Linked DNA regions of Homo sapiens: region 1 is linked to region 2. Evidence: promoter capture Hi-C in human tissues and cell types (Jung and others, 2019). All regions are on one chromosome and are shown on one strand. Each heading gives the region's core, a stretch centred on a gene start or on the middle of the fragment in contact. The rest is flanking DNA. Distances are from core to core; before and after follow the strand shown.

What was found. Contacts are between HindIII fragments. The study calls those that stand out against the background at their distance.
Region 1: a contact is called between a fragment that was not itself captured here and the fragment with the promoter of PLBD2 in region 2, in 1 of the 25 tissues and cell types used here (hippocampus).

What each region holds. Positions count from the first base shown.
Region 1 is chr12:113,949,602-113,956,335 of GRCh38, forward strand. It overlaps RBM19 (RNA binding motif protein 19), which reads right to left. Exons shown (of 24, transcript NM_016196.4): 7 at 5,530-5,610; 8 at 2,911-2,989; 9 at 482-553. Among named protein-coding and RNA genes, the nearest start is that of RBM19, 13 kb to the right of the region's middle. The HindIII fragment of the contact is 5,168 bases long and covers 1-4,992 here.
Region 2 is chr12:113,356,932-113,363,780 of GRCh38, forward strand. It overlaps PLBD2 (phospholipase B domain containing 2), which reads left to right and starts at 1,656. Exons shown (of 12, transcript NM_173542.4): 1 at 1,656-1,959. The coding sequence starts at 1,670. It overlaps LOC105369989 (a long non-coding RNA gene), which reads right to left and starts at 2,579. Exons shown (of 3, transcript XR_945346.3): 1 at 2,399-2,579. RefSeq lists silencers at 1,470-1,969, 2,020-2,079 and enhancers at 2,415-2,914, 6,780-6,849. The HindIII fragment of the contact is 12,918 bases long and covers 1-6,849 here.

The sequences.
Region 1 (6,734 bases), core at 1,159-3,658, 590 kb after region 2:
TGGTCAAAGAATACATCCCTGGGTATTGTTCAGAAGACCTCCCAACTCCAGGGAATTTGCACGTGCTGTTCCCTCTACTGAACATCCTGTCCGTAGAGCCAGAGCCTACACAACTGTAGGTTTGTGTCCCAATGTCACCCCTCGGTGAGGCCAAAGCAGACAGGACCCTGTTTAAAGCCAAGCCTCCTCCAATCCCTGCCCTCCCCAGGACCCGTGCCTGCTGTGTGTTTCCCTGTAGCATGGATCACACATTTAACCACCTGTCTCTCCCTCCTAAGTCAGTTTACTCTCTGTCAGCCCCGAAAGGGCAGGGATTTGGGTCTGTTTGCTCCCTGCCATGTCCCCAGTGCCTAGAACAGTGTCTGCAGAGACACTGCATTCTTGGTGGTGGTGATGGTGCTGGTACAAGAACGTGTAAAGGAAATGAAGGAACGAAGGAACGCTGTAACACAGAGAGAGCACATGGCCAGGGCTTCCTTACCCATGTACTCCCGGTTGCATTTCAGAGCTTGCTTCACTTCCTCTTCATTGCTGAAATCCACAAAGATGTATCCTGACAGAGGACAATGACAGAGGTAAAATCTGCAGGCCTTGCAGACACTTGTGGTGGTCCCCAGAGGAACACCCATACTGTGCTAGGAGCAGAAAGTGAGGGAGAAACCTCTACCTTGGTCAGATCTCCAAAATACAAAGGGTCTCCCTCTCTCTGTCTCCCACCCACAGCCAAATTTCCCTCTGCAGGGAGTGTACAGACCCCAGCCCGGTGTCATGGATGAAGATGCTGAATGCCAGGAGTTGGAAGCCCAGGAGGCCTTTCTGTCTCCCTCCAAGCCTCACCCCCATCCCCCGACTGGCACCTGCTCTAAGCCATTCTCTGGAGAAGGGCCTGTGGCTACAGCATGAGGACCCACCTAGGCGCTGGAAGCACCTTCTCCACACCCACTCTGCTCCTGGGCACCTGAGGCCTTGACTTGCACAAAAAAACAAGCAAATGGGGGAGTCTTTCCTCTAGCATGAGAGGCTCTGCTTCCTGACCTCTTTGGGCCTCAAACCTGTGAGGCAACAAGGTGAGGGGTGAGGACCATTCCCCTGCTTTTCTGGAGCATTAAAGAAATACTCCGAGGGGCACTCGGCTAATAGCTGGCAATGTCTAATACTTGGTCCAAAGCCCTTGGGTTTTCTGCCTTTAATCACAAGGCTGTTTAGATTCTTTCTGTGACTCCTCCATGCCCTCCTTTCCTATATCCAGGCACCTCATCCATCCCCATAAACATCTTCCGTCCTTTTCCCTCCCCCTCTCCATGGCCACACCCTAGGCCCCATCACCACTGATCCTCCCTTAGACGATGGCAAACGCCTGGCTCCAGGACCCATTCTTCACCTGCCAGGGACCATCCTAAATGTGATCACTGCCCTCCCCTGCTCTAAGCTCCCAGGGGCCCCTGCATCCAGACTGAAGCCCACAATCTTTTTCTTTTTGAGATTGGGTCTTGCTATGTTGTCCAGGCTGGATTTGAACTCCTAGGCTCAAGTAATCCTCCTACTTCAGCCTCCTGAGTAGCTGAGACACACAATCTTTAATGAGGCCCCTAAAGCTTAAGGGGCCCAGCCTGCCTCCTCCCCAGCTCTCCTGCAGGGGACATTCAGCTGCTTTTCAACATTTCATGCTTGGATGCCGGCTCTCTCCAACTCTGGGGCCTCCAATATGGTTTTCTCTTGGGTCTGACAACTCAGATATGTTTCTTCCTGCTCCCTCCCTGGTCTGTGAAGTGCCATAAAACCAAGGGTACCAGCACCATCACCACCACCATCATGAATATTAACAGCAGCTTTCATGGAGTGTGCAACAGGGGCTCAGCACTGCTCTAAATGCTGTACACAGAGCCATTCATGCAACTTGGTGAGACAGGTTTACCTGACTGCACACACACACACAAACACACACACACTCACACACACAAACAAACTGAGGCTAAGTCCCTTGTCCAAGGTCATAGGGCTCCTACCTGAGATCTGCACTTAGGCAGAGCCCTTTACCCTGACCTCATCCTGCCCTGTAATCAGTCTGCAAGGAGAAGGATGGGTGGCTGAATGGATCAGCTGGGTAAGTGGGACTTCCGTGATAAGAGGAGAGTTGGGGAAGAAATGCAGAAACATGACAGTGAGGAGACCATCCCTCAAGCACACTTTCTTCCCCAGATGTCAGCCTAGGTAGATCTCAACTGCTCTACCCAGGCCAGTGTCTTCTTGCCAAAGACAGAGTACACATCCAGCGGCTTCCAGCCTCCAGCCTCCCCGCAGCTACAGGGCCTCAGTGTGGTTCTCTTGAGAAGTAGCAAGTCAGCTGCTGAATCTCCCAGTGTCCTGGCCAGCAAGAAGTAGGCACGGACAGGTGCCCACCTCCCCGAGCTCAGACACTCTGCCTTCCAGCCACACTGCTCATCTCAGGATGACCAGAACCCAGGGCTCTGAAGCCAAGGGAGGTGCCTGGTTGGTTGCCCAGAGTATAAACCTGCAGGGAGGGTGGCACGGGGCAACACCACACATGCTCAGCAACTCAGAGCCCTGCCCACCAGCAGAGCTGCCTGTGGACTTGGCCTAGCAAACCCCAGGACCTGTTGGCATTTGTTTCAGCGTAATAGGTGAGCCCACTGAGATAGGCAAAGGCTAAGATGAGGAAGGGAAGGATGAAAAGCACAGGTGAGAACTCCATCCCTATACACTAGGCCACCAAAGGCTGGGGCAAGAGATGCAGCCTTAACCTGCCCAGGCTGACCACATCCACACAACTGAGGACCACAAACAGGAAGAAAAACGGGTGCCCTTAAAACTTCTTCCTTATTCAAGTACCCCAACCTTCAATCTTCACTGTCTACCCGCCTTCCCACCTGGAAACATCCTGGATCTTACCTGTTTTATTCCCATGAGCGTTTCTCACAATTCGAATGGCCACTGGTTTCAGGGGTGCCAGGAATTCCATAACATTTTTCTGTGAGAAGAAGTTTTTTTCCCCTTACCAACCACATAATAAAAGTACAACCCAACGAAAAGACATGGGGCAAATTTCTAAATCAGAAAGGATTACAAAGTGTTTCATTCTTTAGTTTTTCTCTTTCCTTATACGTATCGCTTCTCCAATTACCTTGGAGAAAATGTGAAAAAGAAAATTGGAGGAGAAATGAGTAATATAAATATAAAATAGCAGTGTCACTATCAGCGTTAAAATAGCGATGTCACGATCCGCATTTCAAGGCACTGTTTCCCCCCTAGATAATTGTATATACTTGGGATTAAACCTGGCTTTTTTCACTTCTCATTAAGCTTGAGTATTTGGTTTTTGTGTATTAGTTTTGCAAGTAGCCACCTAGTGGTTTTGGTTTTGTTAATTAAAGCATGTGATTTTCTGAATGGTTGATACTGAAAGAATTCTGACAAAATTACAAGCAACTCAGTGAGTTTAATAAAACCTACATGCTTGCTACTCTGAAGTTTGATAAGTTGTAATTCAGATATTTATAAACATAGAGTACCAGAACAGATAAAGACTTCAAGAGAAAAAAGGGCAAAAGACATGATCGGGCACTTTCCAAAAGAGAAGATATATTGGCCAGGTGCGGTGGCTCACGCCTGTAATCCCAGCACTTTGGGAGTCCAAGGCGGGTGATCACCCGAGGTCAGGAGTTCGAGACCAGCCTGGCCAACATGGTGAAACGCTGTCTCTACTAAAAATACAAAAATTAGCTGGACATGGTGACAGGTGCCTGTAATCCCAGCTACCCGAGAGGCTGAGGCAGGAGAATCACTTGAACCCGGGAGGCGGAGGTTGCAGTGAGCTGAGATTGCACCATTGTACTCCAGCCTGGGAGATAAGAGCGAAACTCTGTCTCAAAACAACAATGACAACAAGATATACACGATCTACAAATGTGAGAGAGTATGATCCATCTTACAAGTAATTTAAAATATAAATTAACATGAGATGCCAATTTTACCTATCACATTGATGAAACATTAATAATACCCAGGGTTCAGGAAAATGGGCACTTGTAGACTCTGCTACAGCGAGCATAAACTAGCAATGCTCCCAGAGGGCAACTGATATTATGTGCCAAAGCCTTAGAATTGTACACACATTTGCCTACACAGAATATTTATCTGGAGCAAAGATCAGCAAACTATGGCCCACGGGCCAAATATCACCATGGTCTGCTTTTGAATGGCTTGCAAGCTAAAAATGGTTTTTACATTTTAAAGGATTACCAAAAAAAGAGAAAACAACGAATATGTGACAGAGATTAAATGGCTTACAAAGCCTGACATATTTACCATCTGGCCTTTACAGACGAAGTCTGCTCACCCCTAATCCCAAGGAACTGAATTATTATTTATAACAGCAAAAAATTGGATATAACTCCCACGTCCCAATTTAGGGGACTGAGTAAACCTACAGAAGTTTACCCTGAGTAAGGAAGAGCATGAGCATAAAAAATGCTGCTGTAGCAGAGTATATTCAATATTCAAAGAGGTCTATAACATACCATGATGAGGAGGAAAAAGGGGTTTCCAAAGAGTTCCCAGTAAATGATTGCTTCTTAGACATACAAAGACAAAAACGTCCAAGAAGAGGCTTCAGTGAGCTATGATGGCAGCACTGTACTACAGCCTGGGCAACACAGTGAGACCCTGTCTCACACACACACACAAAAATAATAATAATAAAAACTAAAAACAAAGGAAAACAAAACAAAAACCATCTAAGAAGACACACCCAAAATGTATCAGTGGACGTCACTGGGTAGATACAAGTGTGTTGGCCAGGGCAGCCCTAGTTTGCCTGGGATGAGTTGTCACTGTATTTGGAGTCGTTAGACCTGCGGTAATTACATCCACAGCCTGGCACCCCATTGGGGTAGCACCCCTCTCACTCTCAATTTAGTGTAGATGATAATTTAGTAGTCATCCTACTTACAGGCAATTTTTAAATATTTTTTATTTAGCTACATGGTTTTGAGTTTTCTATATTGAACTACTACTTTCACGAAGAACGAAAATTAAGTGTTCTTCTGCTGTTACAGACCCAAAGGCAGCAAACTACAGTCCACAGGCCAAATCTGGCTCACTGCCTGTTTTTGTAACTAAAGTTTTATTTATTTTTACCTACTTTCTGAGACTGCTTCCTTGCTATAAGAGCAGGGTGAGTAGTCACAACAGAGACCGTGTTGATCACGAAGTCTTAAATATTAACTGGCTGACTGCCCCCACAACCTTTTCTTTAACAGAGTGTGTGCCCACCCTGGTGTGGGTACTGGTGAGTGAAACCAGAACCTCCTTTGTCTTGGTGTAGCCATGCCTGTTTCCTGACCCTGACGATGCCGGAGATGTTATTTCTCAGCCTTTTTGGCCCCCAATTCCTTCCAGCTCATGTCCTCAACCGACTCTAATGCCCCCATGCACCAAAGGCTCCTGGCCTCCCCACCCTCGTCTCCTGCTCCCGCAGGCTGCCGACCCTTGTCCTCAGTTAGCACATACCTCTGTGACATTGAACGGGGCTCCCCGCAGCTTCACGGTGTGGCAGGTGGTGGGTTCCTTCTGGTTTGCTGGTTTCTCTGTCTGAGTGATCACAAAAACAAACAGAAGTGGCCACACTAACCCTTCGTACAGCTGCAGGAGGTGGCACACTGGGACATTTCAGTGCCAGAGAAGGTGCCTGCCGCCAGGGGGAGCTGGGGAATGCTGGGAAGAATCAATGTCCACCGTGTATGGAGTCTGGCCAGAGGTGGGGCTAGGTGATGCCAAGTCTCCATGTGCCCCTGAGACGAGGGCTGGAACCAGAGCCTGGCAAGCTATGGGCACCTGGACAGGGACCCTGGGGCTACAAGGAGGGGCAGGGTGGGAATGTGAAGGAGCCCTGAAGAACGGGGTGTCAGTACCACTATGTAGGGCTTATCAGTGCCAGACACTAAGCCAAGCACTTTACAGATGCCAGTGATCTACTACATCTTCACAACAATCCCATGGGGATTATGGGTTCAGGATCCTTTTTCCCACAACTCCGGAATCCAGACACCTCTGAAAAAACCTAAGTTTCTGGTAACCTTTATGGCAACAAAACCTGCCCCGACTTGAATGCACTTCCCAGCAAAGCCTGCCCTGAGTGGATGTGAGCCCATATATAGCTTATGCTGATTCACGCAGCGCAAGCAGTCTTGTCCATGCGTTGCAGAAATGTGACTGCGCTTGACCGTGGGGTGCTGCCTTTTATCCTGTATTTAGTAACAAGGTAGGCAGAGGGGAGTGAGCCCTGCTGGGGGTGCTGCATTCCAGAGGGTTCTCTTCCTGAAACCTGAAGATTCCAGAATTCCAGCATATACTTAGGCACGGGGTCAGAAACCGGAGGCAGGGAGCAGTGCTACCATGAGTGCCTTTTTGTAAACGAAAATTCAGAGGCTGAAGGAAGTAAAGTATCTCACCCAAGGACCAACAGCCACTAAATGATGGAACTAGGATTTGAACTCATAATTCTGACTTCCCCACACTCTACTACCTCACTGAAATATACAATTTTGGGGGGGAAGAAAAGGACAGAGTGCATAATTAGAAGAGGCAGAAAATAAAAGGAGGGAGGAAGAAGAAAGGGAAAAGAGGAAAGAAAAGAGGATGAAGCTTGCTTTCATCTCATTTGAAAATACAGGGCTGGGGCCAGGTGCAGTGGCTCAGGCCTGTAATCCCAGCAA
Region 2 (6,849 bases), core at 406-2,905:
GGAAAAAAAAGAGAGAAAGACAAATTATTTTATTGCTATTCCTTTCCTTGGTCTCTTAAGCATGACTATGTTTTACAAACCTCTCTATTTAGCCAGTTCTTGTTTTACTTTTGATGCAGCTACAAGGCCACCAGCTATGCAAGGCCACAAGTTATGCACTATATGATTAACTACTTTTGTTTTACCTTTCTAAGCTTGCTTATAAAAACCCCACAATATCTTTGTTCTAGGCTCAGCTTTTTGGATGTGAATCCACTGAGCCAGTGCGTACGTTGAAATAAACATCCTCCTGTTCTCTCATATTGGTCTCTCCGTTCCTCAGTTTCCCACAACAGGACTACAGGTGTGCACCACCAAGCTCAGCTAATTTTTATATTTTATAGAGACAGAGTCTTGCCAGGTTTCCTAGGCTGGTCTCAAACTCCTGGGCTCAAGCATTCCTCCCACCTTGGCCACCCAAAGTGCTGTGATTACAGGCATGAACCACTCACCTGGCCTTCCCTCTCAAATTTTAAGAGTTCCTGATATATTATATGATATATGTTGAGATATATATACATATATATATGTAATGTATATATATGATATATGTTGCAAATAGTTTCTCCTGGTCTGTCAGATGTCTTTTGACTTTGCTTATTGAGTTTTTTGACATGAAAAAGTTAAAAAATTTATACAGTCAAATGCATTAATCTTTTATTGCATCTAGGTTTTTTTTTTTTTTTTTTTCTTTTGAGACAAGGTCTCATTCTGGTTGCTCAGGCTGGAGTGCAGTGGTGCAATCTCGACTCTCTGCAGCCTCGACCTTCCGGGCTCAGGTGATTTTCCTACCTCAGTCTCCCGAGTAGCTGGGACTATAGGCGCGCCTCACTGCGTCCGGCTACTTTTTTGTATTTTTAGTAGAGACGGGGGTTTCACCATGTTGCCCAGGCTGGTCTTGAACTCCTGAACTCGCCCGCCCTGGCCTCCTGGAGTGTTGGGATTACAGGCGTGAGCCACCGCGCCCGACGGCATCTAGGTTTTGAGTAGTAGTTAGACAGCTTTTTCCCACACACATGTAAAAAGGGTATTTGAGGGACAATGGGAAAAGTTGGAATAAAGACTGCATTAGATAACTGTATTAAATAAATGGCAAATACCATTAAATAAATCTGGCCGGGCGCGGTGGCTCACCCCTGTAATCCCAGCACTTTGGGAGGCTGAGGCAGGCGGATCACCTGAGGTCAGGAGTTCAAGACCAGCCTGGCCAACATGGCGAAACCCCGTCTGTACTGAAATTACATAAATCAGCTGGGCGTGGTGGTGCGCGCCTGTAATCCCACCTACTCAGGAGGATGAGGCAGGAGAATCGCTTGAACCCGGGAGGCGGAGGTGGCAATGAGCCGAGATCGCGTCACTGCACTCCAGTCTGGGCGACATATGGAGGTTTTGTCTTGTCTCAAAAAAAAAAAAAAAAAAAAACTTGGGGAAGTGTGCTAAACCGGGTTTGCGTAGGTGGAAGGGGCGGCCGGGCTCTTTAAGGTGGGTCCCGCCCCGTAGGCCTCCCCTCGCGCCAGCCCCTCCCATCCCGGAAAGGCTCAGCCCAAGCCCGGCCCCGCCCGCCCTCGGCCCCGCCCATGGCAGAGCGCAGTCACGTGACCCGGGCTGCGGGGCGCAGCATTGTGCGGTCATGGTGGGCCAGATGTACTGCTACCCCGGCAGCCACCTGGCCCGGGCGCTGACGCGGGCGCTGGCGCTGGCCCTGGTGCTGGCCCTGCTGGTCGGGCCGTTCCTGAGCGGCCTGGCGGGGGCGATCCCAGCGCCGGGGGGCCGCTGGGCGCGCGATGGGCAGGTCCCTCCAGCCTCCCGCAGCCGCTCGGTGCTCCTGGACGTCTCGGCGGGCCAGCTGCTTATGGTGGACGGACGCCACCCTGACGCCGTGGCCTGGGCCAACCTCACCAACGCCATCCGCGAGACTGGGTAAGGGTTGGCTTATCCCCACGCGGGGCCATCGGGGGAGGGGGATGCGTGGGCGCCGGACCTCGCCTGTTCCCGGGACCGGCCTCTTGCCGGGTGGGAACGCCCGTTTCTCTGGGGGTCAGCTACTCCCGAGGCTGCAGCACCGCCCTGCGGGCCAAGTACCCTGTTTGGGAGCTGGCTACTGCGGCATCCCTCACCTCATGGGGCCAGTCCCTTGCCTTCAGCCAGTGGTGACAGTACTTCTGTCCCCAAGAAGCCAGTTCCCTACCACCGAGGCCGCAGTGCCTGCATCTGGATCAGGTCCATGGCTGGTGGGTAAATTCTATCCTCACGGGGACCTGCTCCCTTCCCTAGACTTTGCCTCCTCACCCCATGGAGGCCAGCCCCCTGTCCCCAGGCCTGAGGGGTGATGAGAACTCAGCAGGAGACTAATTCTTACCTGCTTGGCTGTGGCTTGCTCGTGGGTGCCAGCACCCTGCCTCCCTTCCAGTGCCAGGTCAGCAGGACTGAACCTGGGTTCCAGGCTAGTCCAAAAGCAGAGGGTCCCTAAAGTCACATAGACCCATTTAGTATCCTGCTAGGGCTCTGCTCCTCCCTTGTCTTCTGTGTCCTGGTCCAAGGGGAAGTCCTTGGCTGGATGCCGTGTTTGGCAGCCATGCTCACCATCTTTATTGCTGGAACCCAGGCTGTCATTCTGATGTGTGAGTCTCACCTAACTCCTCCGCCTGTCTGGGCTCCCGTTTCCCCATCTGTGGCCCAGATTTTGAGGATGTGCTCTAGTTGGGTGGTCATGTGCTGCAAGTTCTGTACAAGGGCTTGTGCCCATTCATTTATTCATTACCCTGATGGTTGGCCTTAGGGACACAGCTGAGCAGCTGTCTCTACTCAGTGGGAAACACAGACAGCGATAGAAGAGAAATCAGAGTCAGTGGGAGTGGGAAGGATCAGCTTCAAAGCCTTGTCAGCAGGGCCCAGACGCTGGATCAGGCTGTGCTGGGGGATCCTAGGGAACCCGGGGTGCATCCGTCATATCCTAGTGTCCAGATGATGCTAGGGAACCCTAGCACTAGGATGTGCCCAGGATGTGGTCTGTGCTCAGACCACACTGCCCCCTGCAGCAGAAAGGGCCTCCTCCCACTTTAGCCCCTATCCATTTTACTGGCATCCATTGGCTTCTGCAGGTGTTAGGGAGACACAGGATGCCGAGGACACCCCCATTCTGGTGGCACTTGGGGGGTACATCAAGTAGACGTGAGATTTGGGGGAGATATTTGCACAGACACAGGGGCACTGGTTGGGGTAAATCTGGGAAGGCTCCCAGAGAGAGGAGGCCACAGAGTGAGCTGGCATCTGTGGAGGGAACTGAAGCTTTGTGGCTGGCCTCGGGGGCTGCCGGGACTCTTGGATCTGGTGACCCGTTCTTTGCTGACTCACTCATGTTTTTGGCCCTGCATAGCAGAATCAAGAGGACATGACAGAACTGTTCAGGCGAGGAGGGGCAGGAGCGAGGCCCAGCATGGGGAGGGGGCTTTGGCCTCTGGAGGCCCCTCCTGGGCTGTGTTGCTCTTGACTATGGTAAACATGGAAGTGGAGAGAAGGCTTCCTTGATTGTGCTGGATGGAAAGTTCTTCCAGGCTCAGCCCCTCTGCTGTGTGACCTTGGGCAAATCCCTTCACCTCTCTGAGCATGTTCCCTCATATCAAGGTAGGACCAAAAGGGTCATGGAAATTCACTGGGGTCACAGAAAGCACTGTTTATTTATTTTTATTTGTATTTTATTTTTTGAGACACAGTTTCACTCCGTTGCCCAGCTGGAGTGCAGGGGCACGATATTGGCTCACTGCAACCTCCCCACCCTGGGTTCAAGCGATTCTCGTGTCTCAGCCTCCCAAGTAGCTGGAATTACAGGTGTGTGCCACCATGCCCGGCTAATTTTTGTATTATTAGTAGAGATGGGGTTTCACCATGTTGGCCAGGCTGGTCTCAAACTCCTGACTTCAGGTGATCTGCCCATCTTGGACTTTCTGGCTTGTTTTCGGCACCCTCTCTCATCCCCTCCTCTTACGCTCACATGCCCCTTTCCCTTTGAGTTTGCCAGCCCTTGAGGCTCTGATGCAGGGAAAACCATAAAGCGAGCCCCATTTTATAGGCAGGAAACTGAGGTCCTCAGAGACAGCTGCTTGAGGACTCAGGGTCAGATGAAAGAAAGCCATAGGGGGTGTCCTGGCTCCTGATCAGCAGAATCTCTGATCTGTGGGGGACTCTGTGTCTTATTTCGGAGGGTGGGGGCAGGGATTTGATGCCTCTGTTCACTCAGAATTAGGATCCTCCTCCTTCCTGGTGAAATCCCCAGATTTTGCCACTGGGGATCCTGGGATTATCAGGATAAATTCTCCCTACACCATAATCCTTCGTCTTTTTTATTTTTTAAAAAAGGTTTTTTTTTTTTTGTTTTTTTTTTTTTTTTGAGACAGGGTCTCCCTGTGTTATCCAGGCTCGAGTGCAGTGGTATGATCATGGCTCACTGCAGCCTTGAACTCCCAGGCTCAAGAAATCCTCCGACCTCGGCCTCCCAAGTAGCTGGGACTATAGATACGCACCCCCATGCCTGGCTAATTTTTAAATTCTTTTTTTTTGTAGAAACAGGGGTCTTGTCATGTTGCCCAGGCTGGTCTTGAACTCCTGGGCTCAAGTGATCCTCTCACCTTAGCATCCCCAAATGTTGGGATTACAGATGTGAGCCACTGTGCTCGGTACCTTCTTTCAGTTGTGCCATATCTTGACTTTGGGCCAACACCCCCACACAGCCTGGAAACATTTATGATTTGGTGCTTGGAGATCAGAGATGTCACTAGGAGCAGAGCCTGCCTCAGTCTAGCTCTGGCCTTGGTCCTGGGGAAGCTGTATCCTCCAACCTTACTTTGTCTTCCTTCCCTGATCTGATCCCACTGACCAGCACCTTATCGACGAGGTTGCTTAAAGTAAATCACCATCCCGTTGAGAGAGGAAGTGAATCAAAGTTAGAGGGAATTAACAAATTTAGTAAACGGGGAAGCATCCCAAATCCACCAACCAACAGGCAAAAACAGCCCAGTAAAATGGATAAATAAGGCCCAGCTGTTTCTTTGAACAATCACAGGAGATGAATCTATACCATCAAGAATGAGAAAGGAGGACAGGCGCTGTAGCTCATGCCTGTAATCCCAATGTTTTGGGAGACCGAGGCAGGAGGATGGCGAGGGGCCAGGATTTCGAGACCAGCTTGGGCAATGTGGTGAAACCCTGTCTCTGCAAAAAAAAAGTAAAAAATTAGCTGGGTGTGGTTGCGCATGCCTGTGGTCCCAGCTACTCGTTTGAGCCTGGGAAGTCGAGGCTGCAGTCAGCTGTGATTGTGCCACTGCACTCCAGCCTGGGCAACAGAGTGAGACCCTGTCTCAAATAAAAAAAAAAAAAGGCTGAGATAGGAGTGATAGACACAGTTATGGGGGGCATCCCACATAATGGAGAGCATCCAAGGCCATACTAGACTGCGGAAGTGGGGTGCTGATATTTGTGAGATATTTGTGGCCCCCTGCTCATATCAGTGGTCTGACTTTTTCCAATGTGGCCTCTTTCAAGAGGCACCTTGATTAGACTCTTGAGTCATCTTAGAGACATTAGCTGCCCCTGGCATGAAATTGCAATTTGGCCCATAGATTTTCCAGGAAAAAAAAAAAAAGATTGAGGAAACAGACCTACTGCTGCCAACTTTTAATTTTTGTCAAGCAAGTGCATTAAAAACAAAGGAGAGCAATATTTGTCAACCCCTGTCAGCGTTTATCTCATAAAAGATTGGCAATTTTAGAGCAAACAAGCAGAAAGGACATACTCTCTGAATAAGGAGTAATCTTCTTTTGATTTATTTTTTTTTTTTGAGATAGAGTCTGCTCTGTTACCCAGGCTGGAGTGCAGTGGCATGATCTTGGCTCATTGCAACCTCCGCCTCCTGGGTTCAAGTGATCTTCCTGCCTCAGCCTCCCTAGTAGCTGGGATTACAGGTGTGAGCCACTATACCCAGCTAATTTTTTTTTTTTTTTTGTAATTTTAATAGAGATGGGGTTTCACCATGTTGGCCAGGCTGGTCTTGAACTCCTGACGTCAGGTGATCTGCCCACCTCAGCCTCCCAAAGTGCTGGGATTACAGGTGTGAGCTATTGTGCCTGGCCGAAGAGTAGTCTTTAATAAGCACATCTAGTTATAGACACACTCTAAAGTGTTTTTCTGGCCGGGCGCTGTGGCTTGTGCCTGTAATGCCAGCACTTTGGGAGGCCGAGGCAGGAGGATTGCTTGAGCCCAGGAGTTTGAGACCAGCCTGGGCAACATGGTGAGACCCTATCTCTGCAAAAAATATAAAAAACTAGCTGGGCACGGTGGTGCGTGCCTGTAGTTCCAGCTACTCAGAAGCTGAGACGGGAGGACTGCTTGAGTCCAGGTGAGGCTACACTGAGCTGTGATCACGCCAGTGCACTCCAGCCTGGGTGACAGAGTGAGACCCTATCTCAAACAAAACAAAACAAAACAAATTTCTAGCAGTTTAGAAAGAGGGGATGGGATATGGGAAGTAAAAGCCTCCCCCTACCATTCTTCCTAGATATAAACATTTTTAGCTTTTTTTTTTTTTTTTTTTGAGGTGGAGTCTCGCCCTGTTGCCCAGGCTGGAGTCAGTGGCGCGATTTCGGGTCGCTGCAAGCTCCGCCTCCCGGGTTCACGCCATTCTCCTGCCTCAGCCTCCCGAGTAGCTGGGACTACAGGTGCCCGCCCCCACGCCCGGCTAATTTTTTGTATTTTTAGTAGAGACGGGGTTTCACCATGTTAGCCAAGATGGTCTCGATCTCCTGACCTCATGATCCA